Regions from separate parts of the Homo sapiens genome. Here region 2 is linked to region 1. The links are contacts of gene promoters, found by promoter capture Hi-C in human tissues and cell types (Jung and others, 2019). All regions are on one chromosome and are shown on one strand. Each heading gives the region's core, a stretch centred on a gene start or on the middle of the fragment in contact. The rest is flanking DNA. Distances are from core to core; before and after follow the strand shown. Region 1 holds the start of REEP1 (receptor accessory protein 1). Region 2 overlaps RNF103-CHMP3 (RNF103-CHMP3 readthrough).

Evidence for each region. The method cuts DNA at HindIII sites, captures the fragments that hold promoters and counts their contacts. A contact is called where the count stands out against the background at its distance.
Region 2: a contact is called between a fragment that was not itself captured here and the fragment with the promoter of REEP1 in region 1, in 2 of the 25 tissues and cell types used here (dorsolateral prefrontal cortex and spleen).

The regions. Positions count from the first base shown.
Region 1 is chr2:86,335,791-86,339,125 of GRCh38, reverse strand. REEP1 (receptor accessory protein 1) reads left to right here and starts at 1,500. Exons shown (of 9, transcript NM_001371279.1): 1 at 1,500-1,647. The coding sequence starts at 1,616. The HindIII fragment of the contact is 14,274 bases long and covers 1-3,335 here.
Region 2 is chr2:86,632,319-86,635,653 of GRCh38, reverse strand. The region is part of intron 2 of RNF103-CHMP3 (RNF103-CHMP3 readthrough); the gene reads left to right. It overlaps LOC124907853 (a long non-coding RNA gene), which reads left to right and starts at 3,140. Exons shown (of 2, transcript XR_007087122.1): 1 at 3,140-3,335. RefSeq lists an enhancer at 2,319-2,842. The HindIII fragment of the contact is 3,155 bases long and covers 82-3,236 here.

The sequences.
Region 1 (3,335 bases), core at 251-2,750:
GAAGTCTTTCTTCTGACTATATCAGGCACACGCACGCACAGATTCTGCTACATCTGAGAGTACTAAGCTGTCTCCTGCGCTTCTCACATCTGACACTGAATTATACATGACACCATCATCAGCAAAGGACAGGGCGCTGGGAGCACCACGCAGAACCTAAGCTATTGGAGGGTGGGAAAAGCAGCAGCAGAGCCTAGGAGTAGAGGACAAAGCGTTTCCAGTGTAACAGAATAATGTACTATCTGCGGCCGGGACTAGGGTGAGCAGAGTGAGGCGCTCAGTGAGGGTGCAACATTTAAGAGGTGCCATAAAATTCAGCAACTAAAATACATAATAGGTGGCTCACTCCTGTAATCCCAGCACTTTGGGAGGCCAAGGCGGGCGGATCACGAGGTCAGGAGTTTGAGACCAGCCTGGACAACATGGTGAAACCCCGTCTCTACTAAAAATACAAAAATTAGCTGGGCGTGGTGGCGCACTCCTGTAATCTCAGCTACTCATGAGGCTGAGGCAGAAGAATCGCTTGAACCCGGGAGGCGGAGCTTGCAGTGAGCCGAGATCGCGCCACTGCACCCCAGAGCGAGACTCTGTCTCATAAAAAAACAACAACAACAAAAAAAACCACCATAATATTTAATACGGTATTTTAAAAAATACATAAAAACGTTTATATAGGGTGCACAAGTTCCCTTTTGCCTAAGAGTTCAACGTGGCTCAGCGGGGCACTGGTGCTAAGCAGTCGCAGCTTCTAGTCTCCTCCTAGGGCCCGGAGCAGCCCCCAAGGAAAGGCCTTCCCTAGGAAGAAGTAGCCCTTCAGCCCAGCCTAGAAGAAGGAGCTGAATCAAACCAAGGCAGGACGATGAGGCGTGGCGTGTACTGACAGGGAAGAAGAAACAGCAAATATTTGAGTCCAAGATGCCTGGAGGGAAAAGAGCTAGAGGACTATTTGGGGGAATGGTCTTGGCAACACGGTTCTAGGCAGGTACCACGATCATATAGGGACTCTGTAGAATTTTAAGTAGGGAGGCAAGCGCCCAGGTTTGTTTCTTATGCAGAAAGTGCTGAGCAACGGACAGACTGAAGAGGTTAGGTCTGGATCCAGGTAAACCCTTTATGAGGCTAACGCACTAGCTGAATGAGGGATGACAGCATCCCACCTAGACAGGTGCAGACAGATTCCCGAGGTTCAGGTTCGGACTTCAGTTTCTCCGCTGGAACGCTGAGGGTGGGGCAGCACCCGGGTCCCTGCCCTGCAAACGGGGCCGCTGCAGGGTTCCTTTGGCGGGGCCGGTGCCCCGGGGAGCGCGCAGGACGCGCCCGCCTTCAGCCGGGGGCCAGGGCGAGCGGGACGGGGCGGGCCCGCGGGTGCCCTGACCAGCTCACCGCCCAATCGCTGCGGGCCCGCCGAGCCCCGGGGGGCTGGGGCCGCCGCCGCCGCCGCCAGAACGTGCCGCGGCTGCGCCAACGCGCGAACGCCGGGCAGGGCGGCGGGCGCGCTCAGTCTGGCGGCGGCTGCCGTGAGCTGACTGACGTTCCGGGAACGCCGCAGCAGCCCGCGCCGCCCGCAGCCTAGCCGAGCCGCGCCGCCCGGGCCTCGCCCGCCCGCCTGCCCGCCATGGTGTCATGGATCATCTCCAGGCTGGTGGTGTAAGTGGCCTTCTCCCCCGCGCCCCTCCGTCCCCTCCCTCCCCGCCCCCGGCCCCGGGCTGCGCGCGCCCCTACAGCGCCCGGTCCCAGTGGCTCGGGCTATTAATACCCGGCGCAGCTAAATTTAGCAGGTACAGTAGCCGCCGAGGACGCCTGCGGGCGGACGGGCGGCGCAGGACGCGGCTGCTGCCCAGGAGGCAGCCGGCGCCGGCGGCCGCTTGCGGGGGGCTGGGCCGGGACGGCGAGGGCTGGGGCGCTCGGGGGTTCCGTGGGGGCTGCGTCTCGCCGCGCGCTGGCCGCTTTGTTCCTCAGCTCGGTCGATTTGCAGAGGCCCCGAATGGGCGCACCGCGGACACGCGTCTCTCTCCTTTGGCAGAAATGTGAGGTCGCCCGGCGCCGCGCCCCGCCGCCCCAGCTTTTGTCAGGTGGAAAGGACAGCGCAGACGAACCAGGGGCGCTGCCTGGAGGGTCAGCGCGGAACGGGTGGAGAGGCAGAGGCGGGGCTCCCAGTGGGGTTGGAAAAATCCTCCTTTTTAGGTGTCTGCATCGACAGCGGCAAAGGCAGCTGGGACATGGGAAGACGCATGTGAATCTTGGAGTAAACGCCTGGAGCCCCCGGCTCCGACTCCTTTTGCAGGGGATTGAGAGACAGGGGCAGGTACCTCCAGGAATGCACGGGAAATTTTCAAGTGACAGCCACCCGCATGGTGGCGATGACACCTCCCAGGCCTTGCAGGAGAGCGCAGAGTCATCTAGGGTGAGGTCTGTGTGAAGTCATTGGGGGTGGGCGTGGGGGCCGATTTTCTCCTTCAAGCCCCAGGACCTGTAGGCGTTTGAAGAGCTTCCCCGGTGGATTTATTCTCCTTTGGAGATAGACGTGGCTGTTCCAAGTCCCTGTTCTTCCCTAACCATCCTGGCCTGAGTCAGAACAGATTTGCCACCTGCTGTAGCTAGCAGGGGCTGAAATGGGTGTGGGGAGTCTAAGGCGGGGAGGAGGGTGGCAGGCACCTCGGGCTTTTTCTTTGTCTGAGAACACGGGGCTCTGGACCCCAGTGATTGTGCACCATCACTCCCCACGTTTTGAAACACCACCCATCTCCCTTCCCTTCTTTACTGATTTTCCCTTCCGAAGTGGATCTCAGCATTGTCTCCCGCCACCATTCAGGGCTTTCCTCCCAAAGCCAGTGTCTGTGCCTCTCAGCCCCCAAGTCATTCCGTGAAGGCCTCTCCACAGCTGTTCCTGACTGCGGGGTGTTTGCGCTGCACCTTGAGGTGGCATGTTAAATATTTAGAAGATTTCTGCTGGCAGAGCCGACATGAATAATACAGGAAAGTGGCTGACACGCCTTGCCCAGCCTCATGCCTGACCAACACTGTCTTGCCTTCAGGGTGGTGTTTCCTCTCTGGGATCGATATTGCCAGTGGCTTCTGGGAAGCCCTCAGGGTGGGGCTGGAGAGTTGAGCTGGCCTGGCTGGTGGGCTCTCTGTAGGTCCTGCTGGGCTGGGAGTGAGGGCATCTGATCCTGGGTCATGTGACTATCATTAGTTTTATTAGCACTGGGTCATGTGACTATCATTAGTTTTATTAGCACCTCCCTCACCCCTGCCCTTTTTTTTTTTTTTTTTTTGAGACCGAGTCTCGCTCTGTCGCCCAGGCTGGAGAGTGCAGTGGCACAGTCTCGGCTCAC
Region 2 (3,335 bases), core at 410-2,909, 300 kb before region 1:
TGTGTAAACAATAAACATATGAGGAAATAAGTAATTTATTATTCTAAGAAGTAATTTAAGTTAAAATAGCAATGAGATACCATTTCAGCTGCAAAACTGGCAAATATTTTTAAAAATGAAAATGCCCAGAACTATTGAGGTTATCAAACCTATATTTACAGTAGGATATTCAGTTTATATGAACTTGTTTGCTATATGAGAGTGGTGGGATTATGCCTATTTTACATTTTCTTCTTTTTGCTTATGTGTATTTTTTAATGCTTCTATAATAAATATGAATTACTTTTGTAACAAAATGTACACTTTATTTTATTTATTTTTTTACATGCAATACTTTTATTTTAGACATGCAAGGAAAGCTGTTTCAGAATCTACTGTTTATTATTTTTTTAAGACAGAGCCTTGCTGTGTCGCCTAGGCTGGAGTGCAGTGGCACAGTCTCGGCTCACTGCGACCTCCACCTCCAGGGTTCAAGCGATTCTCATGTCTCAGCCTCCCTAGTAGCTGGGACTACAGGTGTGCACTACCACACCGGGCTAATTTTTGTGTTGTTAGTAGAGACAGGGTTTCATCATGTTGGCTAGGCTGGTTTCAAACTCCTGGGCTCAAGTAATCCTCCTCGGCCTCCCAAAGTGCTGGGATTACAGGCGTTAGCCACCACCCCAGTCCACAAAATGTACACTTTAATCTCCCCCTTTTAATTGAGAGCAATTTCGCTATCTTGAAGTTCTCTTTCTCTTTCTTTTCTTCATGCTAACCAATTCCAATTTTCTTCATCTTTCCTTAGAAGACCTAATTTTCATACTAAAATTATATTTATCAAGCTTTTTAAGACTTTATTTTTGCCATGTGCTTAATTAAATTGAGCTTACTTTCAGAATTACTCTACCATAATGACTTTAATTTTTGAAAAATCCTTTTCTAGTCTCTCTGTAACTTAACAGACTTCCATTTGCACTACATTTCATTTAAAATATACATTAGCCAGATTGACACTTAAAACATGTTCACCCTGTGTTCTTTTGTCTAAAAATAGACTTATTAAGTGTCTTCTGTGTACTCTGGTACTGTCCCTATGTGTCATAGCAGAGATGCATTCCTATCAGTGTATGTGGGCACGTGTGTGTGTGTGTGTGTGTGTGTGTGTGTGTGTTTGCATGTATAAAACATATGCCTTGGACGGGCGCGGTGGCTTACGCTATAATCCCAGCACTTTGGGAGGCCGAGGCAGGCAGATCACAAGGTCAGGAGTTTGAGACCAGCCTGACCAACATGGTGAAACCCCATCTCTACTAAAAATAGAAAAATTAGCTGGGCATGGTGGGGCACGTCTGTAGTCCCAGCTACTCAGGAGGCTGAGGTAGGAGAATAGCTTGAACTCGGGAGGCGGAGGTTGTAGTGAGTTGAGATCACGCCACTGCACTCCAGCCTGGGTGACAAAGCGAGACTCCATCTCAAAAACAAAAACAAACAAACAAACATGTGCCAGGCTCTGGGCTAAATGGCTTCTAAGCTTTACTTCATTTGGTCCTCACAACACTTTTATGAGATCATCATTATTGTTTCCATTTTACAGATCAGGGTTAGAGAGGGGAGCTCTAACATGCTAGAGATTAGCCTGAAAGCACAGGAGCTAGGCCATGCAGATGGCATGCAGGAAGGAAAGAGGGTAGTATAGAAATAAGACTATGTACAAGGCAGCATATGAGAAATGCTACAAATACGTTTCTGAACACACATTTTCTGGACCTTCACTGATTTCAATAATTTGGTTGCAGAGGACGGATTTCATGGGTATGGGAACAGTGCAGCTGCACATGGCCCCAGGTTCAGAAGAGCCCTGCATGCTTGGAGTTTAATGCTCTGCAGTTGCTTGATATTCTTAATAATTTAATCTTTGAATTTGTGTCTTGAATTCTTAATAATTTAATCTTTGAATTTGTGTTTTGCAAGTGAAGTCCAATGGACATTGAAGCACGTGCCATTAGCTTACATGCGGTTCTGCCTGCTGCCAGCTCCCCACCTCCCTGAGAATAGGTCCTTGGCAGCCTGTTCTCCATTGCCTGGTTCCTGGGACCCTGCCCAGCCACCCCCTCTCCACATCTGCTCTCCCCACTGTGGCCCCTGCCTGCCTTTAACTGGGATGGCAACTATGTTGTGTCTGGCAGAGGTGGGGGTTGGGGGGTAACATTCTGCTGTCATCCTCTGCTTTCAATAGGGACCTGGAGTTGCACCCGGGGAGACTTGAGGCTGGGCATCCAGGGTCTCTTTGCAGCAGGGCCTGGCAGCACCACAACTGTTAGGGGGCAACTCGCCTCTGCCCCACCCCCAATCCAGGCACTGAGCTTGTCCTGGCACTGAGGTTTCAATCCCTTCAGGGCCAACCATCTGCTGCAGGTTGGCCCGGCACCAAGCATTGGCCTGTGGCTGGAGGGAGGGGGACCCCGGAGCCTGTGAGGACTCACACTTGCCCTGGGAGTATCCCCTGCCCAAAGGCGAACTATATTAAAGAGCAAATTTTAAAAGCACATCATGACCGACAGGTCAAGATAGATGGTGAAAGAAAGGAAAAGCTTTGTATTTCAGCACTTTTAATGGCACTTTTTCTTCCTAGCCTTTTGAACAAGGGCCTGCATTTTCATTTTGTACTAGGCTGGAAAATTATGTAGCCAGTCCTGCTGTCTCATGGTTAGCTTCAGGCAATCAGAGGAGGGAATGGTTTACTCCAGGAGGAATGGTGACTTCTTATTTGCTTATTCCACCCTTCTTTACCTTTGCCTTCAAAATGTTTATTCAGGGAGTCCTACTGCCTGCTGTTACTGGTGTTGGCAGAAGATAGCACTGGTGACTGTTTTCTGCAGAGGAAGCTGCCAACCGTTGATATAATTTCTTCTTTTCTTTTTTCTTTTTTCTTTTTTTTTTTGAGACAGAGTTTTGTTCTGTTGCCCAGGCTAGAGTGCAGTGGCACGATCTTGGGTCACTGCAACCTCTGCCTCCCGGGTTCAAGCGATTCTTGTGCCTCAGCCTCCCTAATAACTGGGATTACTACTGGCATGCACCACCATGCCTGGCTAATTTTTTTATTTTTGGTAGAGAAGGGGTTTCACCATGTTGGCCAGGCTGGTCTCAAACTCCTGACCTCAAGTGATCCGCCCACCTTGACCTCCCAAAGTGCTGGGATCATAGGCGTGAGCCACCGTGCCCAGCCCTGATATAATTTTTTGACTGTGCATGGGAAAAGGTGGTGGAAAAAAGGGAAATGAGAAATCAGGAATTTGAGATTATTAAACTGTGTGACTAACCATCACCTCCCATAACTGCAGTCCTGTAATGTT